3 separate regions of the Homo sapiens genome follow, and all the other regions are linked to region 2. Evidence: promoter capture Hi-C in 16 types of primary human blood cells and fetal thymus (Javierre and others, 2016). All regions are on one chromosome and are shown on one strand. The core of a region is centred on a gene start or on the middle of the fragment in contact, and the rest is flanking DNA. Distances in the headings are between cores, read along the strand shown.

Evidence for each region. The method cuts DNA at HindIII sites, captures the fragments that hold promoters and counts their contacts. A CHiCAGO score of 5 or more calls a contact.
Region 1: a contact is called between a fragment that was not itself captured here and the fragment with the promoter of PRICKLE1 in region 2, in 1 of 17 cell types (total B cells). The highest score is 6.2, in total B cells.
Region 3: a contact is called between the fragment with the promoter of PDZRN4 here and the fragment with the promoter of PRICKLE1 in region 2, in 4 of 17 cell types (M1 macrophages, fetal thymus, total B cells and 1 more). The highest score is 7.0, in M1 macrophages.

What each region holds. Positions count from the first base shown.
Region 1 is chr12:41,271,613-41,274,809 of GRCh38, reverse strand. All of the region lies in intron 3 of PDZRN4 (PDZ domain containing ring finger 4), which reads right to left. Among named protein-coding and RNA genes, the nearest start is that of PDZRN4, 85 kb to the right of the region's middle. The HindIII fragment of the contact is 906 bases long and covers 860-1,765 here.
Region 2 is chr12:42,588,414-42,591,777 of GRCh38, reverse strand. PRICKLE1 (prickle planar cell polarity protein 1) reads left to right here and starts at 2,032. Exons shown (of 8, transcript NM_153026.3): 1 at 2,032-2,313. RefSeq lists an enhancer at 752-1,309 and a silencer at 1,779-2,028. The HindIII fragment of the contact is 6,666 bases long and covers 1-3,364 here.
Region 3 is chr12:41,186,827-41,190,471 of GRCh38, reverse strand. It overlaps PDZRN4 (PDZ domain containing ring finger 4), which reads right to left and starts at 2,152. Exons shown (of 10, transcript NM_001164595.2): 1 at 1,369-2,152. The coding sequence starts at 2,016. LOC124903069 (a long non-coding RNA gene) reads left to right here and starts at 2,240. Exons shown (of 2, transcript XR_007063563.1): 1 at 2,240-2,671; 2 at 3,142-3,645. The HindIII fragment of the contact is 2,373 bases long and covers 71-2,443 here.

The DNA.
Region 1 (3,197 bases), core at 63-2,562, 1.3 Mb after region 2:
CTGTCTTCAGATATTTCAAGGGTGTATACTTCATGAACACACCAGGCAAAGTTTGAGCCAGGGAATGCTAGCTATGATAGATTTGGCAAAATATAAGAAAACTTTTCCTAATGGAATCATCTGAAGAAGAAGCAGGCTGTCTTGGGAGATCTGCTCTCCACCATGGATTCAGGTATTTCAGTAGTGTCTAGGGATACAAGAGGTAGAGATAATGTCAATGTTACATAGACTTTAGTTGGTATTTAAAAATGGCTTCTAATATCCCTGAGCATCTATGGTACTATATTTGCTTCCAAAATATTTTCTAATTCGGAACTTTCATTAATTCAGGCAATCCTTCTCTCTAGCTTAAACTAGGAAGTGTTCACTAAACATAGAAACAAGCTCAGCATTTTAAGCGTTTTCCATTTATAATGATCAACTCTATATATTCCTTCAAATTGCACCTTTGTGCCATATCTATTTAAATTTTGAAAGATTTATTATTTTAAATAATGCTTGGTATGAAAGAGGTTATATAGTCAAAGATTTTAACTACACAATACACAGAGTGGTTATTAATAAAACATATTTCTGTTCTGTTTTTTTAAAAACCCTGACATTTTCAAAAGGAAAATACCAGCTTTACACACACTCATTAGGATGACCTACTTTTTGACATGTGGCTACAATTTATTCTACCACTTATTGGTGAGGTAGTTATCCCAGTACAAAATGAAAAAAATATATAATGTCCTTACTTAAAAAGTTATATGAACTTAACTTAAATGCCATGTCCCACATAGAAGAAGGCAAGACCCCTTTTATGACAAAGTAAAGACAAAATGAACCCCATATTTCTATGGTTGCTGACCAAGCTTGCATTCAAGGACTTTAGATCTTGATGCATTAAGAAAAATGATAAATGATAATGGGATGACATTAAGGCATAATTGCTGAACTAGTTCTTTGGCATCTGCTGCCATGAAGGTAAATTTAATGATAAATAGCATACATTTGGTAATTTTCTACTATAATAAGACATGTTTGCAAATCAACCATAGTTTTTGCAGGTAAACCTGAAAACATATTTTATCAATTAAAAATAAGATTTTATGTTCAGTCATTTTTTAGGTATTATAAAAATTCCTAAAATTGCTAATTTCTGACTGAATATACTTTTTCTTTAATGAAACACTTCATTTATTGGTTTCTACATCATTTATAGAGTAGTGTCAAAACTTCCAAGCATACAAGTTCCTTACTAGCTTCACCCTTTATCACTTCCCCCATCTCTGGGAGATGCCCTATATGTAAGTTACAGTTAAGGCTACTTGTAGTTTCTATCACGCTATACTGTTTCATTCTCTGTCCTGAATTCACTGTTTCTTCTTTTCAGAATACATTTTTCTTCTTTAAGCGTCTGGGGAACTGCATTTTCAGATTTGGTTATAATGACTTTCATGACACTCTCCACAACCAGGTTTGATCATTCTTGCGCTTGCCAGCATACTGTCTTATGCAATCTTCCATTACTGTACTTATGAAACTGGATTATAACTTGCTTTCCTTCTATGTCTATTTCCTTCTTTAGGAACACTTTGGAAGAAGAAACTGAGCCTCTTTGATATTTCTATCCATAGTGCCTAACATTACTTTATTAAAATGTACATTTTTGAATGAATAAAATTGATCCAAATGGATAGTCAACACTTTATTCATTTTCCATACCCATGATTGCTTAAATTTAACATAAGCAGACTACTAAATGAAGCCCAGACAAGCTTAAGCAAAACAACAAGGAAATGCGCCTTTTAGGAACTGCCAAGACTATAGTTCTCATTGATTGCAGAATTCAATTTCCTCCTAAATATTTTGATTATTAGGACTTCAATGTGACTTCTGGAAATTCAGAGTTACAACCAACAGCATCTATTTTGCTGTTCTCCCACCTGGACAGCAACTTAACCAACTCATCCCATGGTCACTCTAAAGGCCTTTAATTGACAATTCGATGCCACAAAGGGGAAAGAAAACAAAGCACTTTCTAAGTAAATATGTTATTATAAAATAAAGATAGAAATGTTTTTCAAGCTTGGCAAATATTTTTATAACTTTTGAACTGCCGATAAAGTTTTAAATTTTTTTCTGGCAGTCTTGATACATGTGCTTTAAAAGTGTATCCATTTCTTACTAAAAGAGTCAATTATACTTACTAAACACACCAGTGCCTTTGCCTCCTGAGAAGTTAGAAATAACTGATAGTATAGGTATATATTTATTGAGGCAATTAAATCCGTGACCCTTAAAAGCAGTCTTAAGTAGCTGCAAAGATTTAATACTCATTTAATACAATAAATGGGCCATTATAGTAATGATGCTTTAAAATTAATAAGTCAAACAGGTCACTTTAGGATCAATATATTTGGTCTGTGAAGTATATTTCATACATATTCCATTTAAGAATATTTTATTTGAAGATCCTGATCTGTATGTCTCAACTGAGTTAGAAATTTTCATAACCAAAGAAAACAATATTTTTACCAGTTGACTTTAGGCTGATTCACCACATATCATTGGCACTTTGGCTTTAAAACCAGAAGAGGTTATTTATTTATGAATTTTATGTTCTTAAAGTAAATATTAGTGGAGGGAAAAAAGTAAGTAATTCATTGAATGGACATAGACAAAATCTTTGATTTTTATTGTTTATGTGAATTAAGGAAACAAGTTAAATTTTTTTTGCCATTCTTTCATTCCAAAAAAAAAAATACTCTATTTGGTAGAGAAAGGAATTGCTTTTTGAGATATTCTATATAGTAGAGGCTTATATAAACATAGAAATGATGTTGCAAAATCATTTGTTGTCTGTGCAGTATTGAAATATAAAGATCTTTTATGAGATCAAAATAATGAAAACAGGCCTGGCAGCATGTGTTTTATTTCCATATTTCAGATATTCCCTAATGATAACCACAAAGTCCTCTGAGGGGAGTGTATTTGTTTTCAATGCAATTGTAATAGAATGAAGGGAAGCTTTTGCTTACTAATGTGCTGCATTTCTAATAATTCTTTCCATCCACTTGCAAATGTGAATTGTCACCGCTGATTTATGTTCATTAATCAAAACGGCAAATGCATGTGGAGTGCAGAATCCGGGTCCAGGCTGTTGTGTGAAAAATGTGATCAATCATCACTGATTGGCATTTTGAGTTAAA
Region 2 (3,364 bases), core at 783-3,282:
CCTTTGTGAAGTCACTGTACAGCAATAAGATTTATTTCACCTATGGAGGTAGTGAAATTTTCTTTGGCAGTTCTGGAGGTTAGATAGAACCTAAAAGTTGATAGCTTAATAGAAGCATTTGTAACCCCAGCAAGATAAACAGACACAACTTCAAAGGCCAATTCCAATAAAATGCTGAGGGGCAAGAAAACCTGGTTTGTTCTTTCCCAGATTCTCGTCACCTGAGGTCAGGAGTTCGAGACCAGCCTGGCCAACATGGGGAAACTGTCTCTACTAAAAATACAAAAATTACCTGGGCGCGGTGGCAGGTGCCTGTAATCCCAGCTACTCGGGAGGTTGAGGAAGGAGAATCGCTTCAACACGGGGGCGGGGCGGAGGTTGCAGTGAGCGGAGATCGCGCCACTGCACTCCAGCCTGTGTGACAAGAGCGAAACTCCGTCTCAAAAAAAAAAAAAAAAAAAAAAAAAAAAAAAAACAACGCTAGCAAGTGGAATTATTTCAAAAGCAACAGCCTTGTTTCCTGAGTGATCTGAGCTCAGGAACTCTGCCTGGGCATCTAGACAGGAGAAAGTATCTACAGCGTGGGGAGATCTGAGTCAGAATTATAGAGCACAGTGCTGAAGCCATACATTTTCCTGGATTTAGACAGTTTCCTCCTCCATTTGCCTTTATTTCCTTGCATTCTCTTTTCATCGGCTCCATTTTTGCTGAGTATTCCTTTGCTTTATTCCCAACGAAAATCGAAAAGACTTGATGTTCTGAGAAATTCTGAGACTGGCAGTTTTGATTTTTCTTAAAAGGATAAAAATTGCATCAGTCAACACCTCCCTCCACACTCCCCCCACACACATCCTCATCTTCCTGGAAGATGATACAGTATCCTAGAGCGTTGTGGAGAGGATGGAGAGGTCAAGGAAGCCCTGGCTTTGCAGAGGCACCTGTCAAGTTCGGGTTAACAGCTGCCGCCTGTGTCTGCCCTCTGCAGTCCAGGGAAATAGTACCCACACGGTGAGACTCCACCGATCCGGAACTGGAGAGGGTGGGGGGTTCTAAGGTTTAGTGTGACACAAATGTCAGGGCAGAACTTTCAAACAGGCTGAGCCCCAGTTCAACGTGGGTGAGTGCGCCTGAGAGCCCAGCTCTGGGAATTGAGCAGACTGAAAATGTGGAGAGTAGTTTGGCCAGTGAAAAATTGTCACCGTGTTCGGATCAATGCTTTGAACCCGCTTTTAAGTGCGCCACGTTCACTTGGGTCAGGCTCTGGACATTGCGGTGGGCTGAGGTTTTCGCGGGCACGATCCCCCACACTGAGTTTTCATGGAGACGACCAGGGCCGTCGAGGCGGGGAAGGGAACGGACTAGAGGCTGAACTTTGGCTTCTTGCTCTGAAAGATCACTCCTCCGGTTCCGGGGCAGAGACTCAGACCAGCCTGTGGGATTACACGAGACAGGATCGAGTCCAAACGGGTCCCCAGCTCGGCAAGGCGCGCCGGAAGGAATCTAAGTGTTTAATTAACTGCCCCCTTCACACACCCCCCGAAGGAGAAGGAACTCAAATAGGCACCCCTACCCAAATCGTTTGATCAGAGGAAATTGGGTTTGTCTCTCCCCCACCCCCCACCCCGTCCCTTCACTCTTCCTGTGTTTCAGTCCATCGGGATTGTTGGTTAAAAAAAAAAAAAAAAAAAGGCTTATAATCGGGGGCGGGGCAGAGGCTCCGAGCGAGCCGCACTTGCGACTCTGGACCGCGGTTGGTGAACTTTTTTCTCCCTGCGCATAATCCGCCTGCTGCTCTGCCCCACTGGCTGCGCGTGGAGCCGGTCCCAGGCCTGCTCGCAGCCCTGCCCCCGGGCGCGGCCCGAGCCGGGCCCGACCTCGCTTTCAGGGCCGAGCCGGGGTACGCGTGGGCGCGCGCCCAGCGGCCTCGATCCCGCGGCGGCGTCCGCGCTCCGCGTTTTCGCTCGCGCCGGGCCCCGCGGCCGAGGGCGGGGTGCGCGGCGGCGCCGCAGCGCGCGGCTCCGGAGCCCGAGCGCACTCCGCCTGCAGCCCAGCTGCCAGCGCCGTCTCCCGCGGCCGCCGCCGCCCGACAGCGCGCCCGGAACATGCCAGCCTCGCGCAGCCTGCGCTGACTTCCCCGAGACGCGCCGCGGTCGGCACGGAGACTTTCTGGGCTCTGGATGGTTCGTGCGCTGCTCACCCTCGCCCACCCCTGACGCCGCGGACCGCAGCTCCTCAGCCCCGCAGCCCCGCAGCCCAGCAGCCCCGCAGCGGCGCCGAGGACAGTGCAGCCGAGTTGCGTCTCCCTCGCGCGAGGTGAGTGGCAGCCTGGATCCCGGCGGATTCCGCAGAGGGGGCTGCGGCGCGGTGGTGGGGGGCGAGCGCCGCAGGGGTAGGGCCGGGCACCTTCGCTGGCACCGCCGGAGTCTGTGACACCCAGACTGGGTCGGTGTCGCAGAAGATCAGGGAGAAGGTCATAATCGGTTTGTTGGGCTGTGTAGACAGGGAAAGCAGATATTGGCTGCAGCATCGCCAGGGCTCCGCAGAGGCTCTCCGCATGGCTCCTGTTTGCTGCATCACAACCAACTCTTCCCTTGGTTTTCTCCGGCGTGGAAACAGGTTCTGTAGCCCGAGGGTCGAGGCGATGCGGGGCGCCGGGAGGCGAGGGTGCGTTGGCGTGTTCCCGCCGCTTAGGATCGCCTGTCACCTACTGGCGTCCGGAGGGAGGGTACCGATTCTCTCCTCTAGCGCTGGGGAAAGGGGCTGGTGGCTTTTTGGCAGAGGCGAATCAACTCCCACCACTCTCCCCAACCCCCTGCCCCGCGATGGTGTTTGCTGAATGTAGCACAGATATAGGGAAAAAATGGGAGCGTCTTCCTCTCTTGAGGTAGAAAAAGTTGAAGAAACTAGGCATGTTAATAGTTATTAGGAGCGGGACTCAGGATGCAGCAGAAAGCTGTTAAATTTTCATTACCCTCTAAGAAAAACAAACGGCATCGCCAGTGACTATTGGCAGTGCTGTGTTATTCTTGGGACTTTGGGAAAATTGTTCACAGATTGTCTTCAGGAGGCTGAAGAACGAGGTTGGGGGTTGGGAGAGAGGGAGGACGGCTGCATCACGCTTAGTTCCAGCTTGCCTAAGGAGGGTTCAGGATCACAAGCCGAACGCGTTTGGTTGCTGATTTTTAAAAGGGTATCAGCGGCAGAACTGAGACCATGAACAAGGCAAACACACCACGGGAACCAGCCTAAAGGAAAAAAAAAAAGCACCAACAACTACAACCAAAAAAACATGTAAAAATCTGCCTCTCCTGCAGAGTTAACATGCATTTGTGCTATCAAATGGATGCATGTATATGTGTCTTTT
Region 3 (3,645 bases), core at 903-3,402, 1.4 Mb after region 2:
TAGCTGTTCCTCCTTTCCTTCAACCATTGGTTTCCTACGACCTTGAAACCTGGACTGGTAATACAAAGCTTCTATCTGTGCTTTTCCCCGGGTCCTCCCGTTTTGTAAATTTACCTGTATATATGCGTATATGTATATGCATATATGAACTAGAGAAATACTCCTTGAAACCGGTCGTTTAATACACAACGTGCTTCCATTCATCAAGGTAGAAACATTTTAGTCCCTCTCACTTCAATTTTCTCTTTTACGTTCAAGACGGGCGCTTCTAAACTCAGTGCCTGAGTTAGAGGCAGTGTGGAGCAGCCAGTCCCAAATGGGAATCTTTCTGGGTTGCTCCTCCCCGGGAGTGCTGAAGAATGAAAACAGCTCCTTGAATGGTGCGCAAATTCTGCTAAATCCCTGCTCACCATGGCAGCGACCAACAATGTCAGACACTGTGCAGAAGTCCTCCAGGAGAGAAGTAACAGCTTTATAAACAAGCCTCTTCACACGGGATGCTGCAAAGAGGCTTGTTTATTCGGTATGAAAGCCGGCGGGAGGACCAGGAGCGCAGTTCGGGGCCAGCAGCTTAGACAAAGAAGGGAAACAACCGCTGCCTGGGGGCTCGCAGGGCCGGTCTGACCACAGATGGAGGTTCTCGGACTGGACTTCCCAGGTCGCACACACACAATCTCAATCTCTCTCTCTCTCTCCACCAATAATGAGATCCCGAGGCAAGGAAGGCTTATTTAGGGAAAGTCAGAGTGATGAAATGAACTCTGCAAGTCTAAGAAACCCCATCTCTCAACTCCTGAGGCTGTCCTGGCCCCAACGTGCCTCACAGTCCCCAACTTAATAGAAGGCAGTTGATTCAGGCAGTGGCAGCGCAAGTGTCATCAACGCTGACACCAGTCCCAGGTGTGCGTGCGCGGCTGCCAGGGCCGCGGGGATGCTGGTGGCCGCGGGAGAGGAAAGGCTGGGCCGGGAAAGTCTTCGCTTTCTGTCTTTCCTTCTCGGATTTGCTTCAGGCACGGGACAAGTGCTCAAAAAATAGGCAGAGACGGTGGGCAGGAGGGTGAAAGATGGAAAACGAGAGTCTGGATGGAAAATGAGTTTTCACAATTCCTACTTTCCCGGGGGAAAGTTAGAATCGAATCTGTTTAACTCTTTCCAATCGTAATATAATCAGAAAAGGGACAATCCTTAACTTCGACGCCAATCCATTCGTAAGATAATGACAGGAAAGTATGATCAGGGTGTGGATGTTTCCTGCTGCATAGTGAGGAAGGATGCCCAATTCCAAAGGAATCCTGAAGCGTCAGAAAGAACCGCTCCTTTTCCCACCCCAATCGACCATGCCCGCGGTGCCCACCCCCCTTTGCTTACCCTGCGGTGGCCGCCACCGAGGTCGCCGACGAAGTTGCGGACGTGAGCCATGTATTGGGTGAACTTCTCCTGGTACCTGCGCGCCGTGAGCTGCACCTCGCCCTGCAGCGCCCAGAGCTGCGCCAGCAGCGCCTTCTCGCGCCGCCTCCAGGCGAGGACCCGAGGCCCGGGTCCCCGCCCGCGGCCCCAGCGGCCGCCCGGCGGCCCCCCGCGCGCGCCCCCGCCCCGGCCAGCCCTGGGTGTCGGACCGCAGCCCCCCCGCGCGGGCACCTCACCACCGCCCAGCCCCGAAGCGCAGCCCCCGCGGCTGCGGAGCCGGCGGGCAGGGCCGAAGTCGCAGTGCTCGACGTGCGCCTCCAGCTCGTGCAGCCTGACCGAGTGGCCGCAGCCGCGGGCGCGGTAGTCGCACTGGACTCGCAGCTTCTGGATGAGGCTGCGCAGCGGCAGCACCCGGTACAGCTCGCCGGGCGCCAAGGGCTGGCACTGCAGCGGGCACCGGCGCCTCCGCACCGCCCAGGGCAACAGGCAGCTGGCGCAGAAGACGTGCCCGCACGGCGTGCACAGGGGCTCTTCAAGCACCTGGCCGCACAGTTTGCACTCCAGAGCCGGGTCCACGGCTTCTGCGAAGCGCTCCAGGGCAAAGCCCATGTTAGGGATGGGGAAGAAAGGGGGAGCGAAAGCAGAGTCCGTCTTCTCCGAGCCCCCCTGCCTTCCCCGGGCCACCCCCGGGGCAGCCGTCTCGCGGCGGCGGCAGTGGAGGGAGGTGGCGGGTGGGAGGTGTGATCTCACTGTTTGTTTGGCTTGAAGTTTTCAGGCTCCTGCTAGGTCCCCTGATTTCGCCCGTATTGACGCTAATAGAAGTAACCTCCAGAGACCCCCGCCTCCTTCGTTGCCCTGCGATTTATGTTCTTTCAAATTTTGGCCGCCCAGCTTACAATGGTCCTTGGGAACACTGTGTTCTCCTTCGCCTGAACAGTGAACTTCAAGCATCGAGGCGCCTCGCCCTGGGCAGGGCTGCTGATGGGTAAAGCGCTAATGTTGAGAAACAACTTTTAAATTCACCACAATGTAAGCTTCGGGAGAGCAGAATCTTTTTGTCTGTCTGGTTTTCCGCTGAATGCCCATGGCCCGCCCGGCGTCGAGTCTATCTCCAATATGTTTGAAATCGAAGCACTTTTGTTCTTTCACATCAAAACTACAAAATCAGAAGTTAGGAAACTGTGACCTTAGGAAATCACTATAAGGAAAATAACACTAGGAAATCCACAGGGCCAGGCTTCTCAAACCGTGATCCAGAAATCAGGTGAGTTAGAATGGCGCGATCCTTGACCTAGCAGCAAAGATGGGGAAAAAGTCAAGGGCCCGCCTCAGGACACTGCCTTCTTAGGGAGCCCATGAACAGCCATGCAAGGCCTCCTCCCGAGTGAGGAAGCTGGGATTCTGAGTCTGACTCCAGGTTCAGTTGCCACAGCATCCATCTTCTACTTCCACGGGCGTTTTACTACTGGGGACGGGAATGTGATCATTTGGGAACCTGGAAGGGAAAATTAAAGGGAAGGATGATGAAAGAAAGCAGTGAAATAACATATAAATAAAATCTTAGTGGCTGCTTCCTTCTACTTACCCTGAATGAACCCTTTGGATCCAAATTGCCTCCCCTCCTAGTTTGACTCCTCAAATTGTGTAGCATGACAAGCCGTCCTGAAAACACGCAGTAGGGCGTCATTCCAAACCCTTCTTACTCCACTTCCTTTACCATCTTCTGAACCTTAGGAATGCAGAGATCCTGTCACCTGGCTGCATATCACTTACTGCCATTATCCTGAAGCTGCCACCAGATGCTTGGGTGGGTTTTATAAATTAATCATTGATGATTCCTTGCTGCCAGTTGAGCCTTGTTCCTGGAAAGCTTGTAATTCTCTATGACACCAAATGGCATCAGTTGGAATTGATGAGAACAGCTCCAGACTTTGTCTTTTAAATCCTTGGAGCTAACTGAAGAATTAGCAAAGACTAATAATAGAGGCTAATAACCTTCTGAGCCTTCTTGCTGTTTGAAAGATGAGATTTTGTTAGTTGTTCAATAACCAGTGATGATTGGTGTGCTAGATGTTTGATATGCTTTTAAACTCTTTTTCAAAATAAGATGCTATATTTCTCATTTAATATATATAGATTCATATGTGATAAAGTAACATTTGCCCCTATGTTCCAAATTTCCCCCCTCTTTCGACCTGTCTTTCTACAAATAAATAAGCAAACAATGAATTACTGATT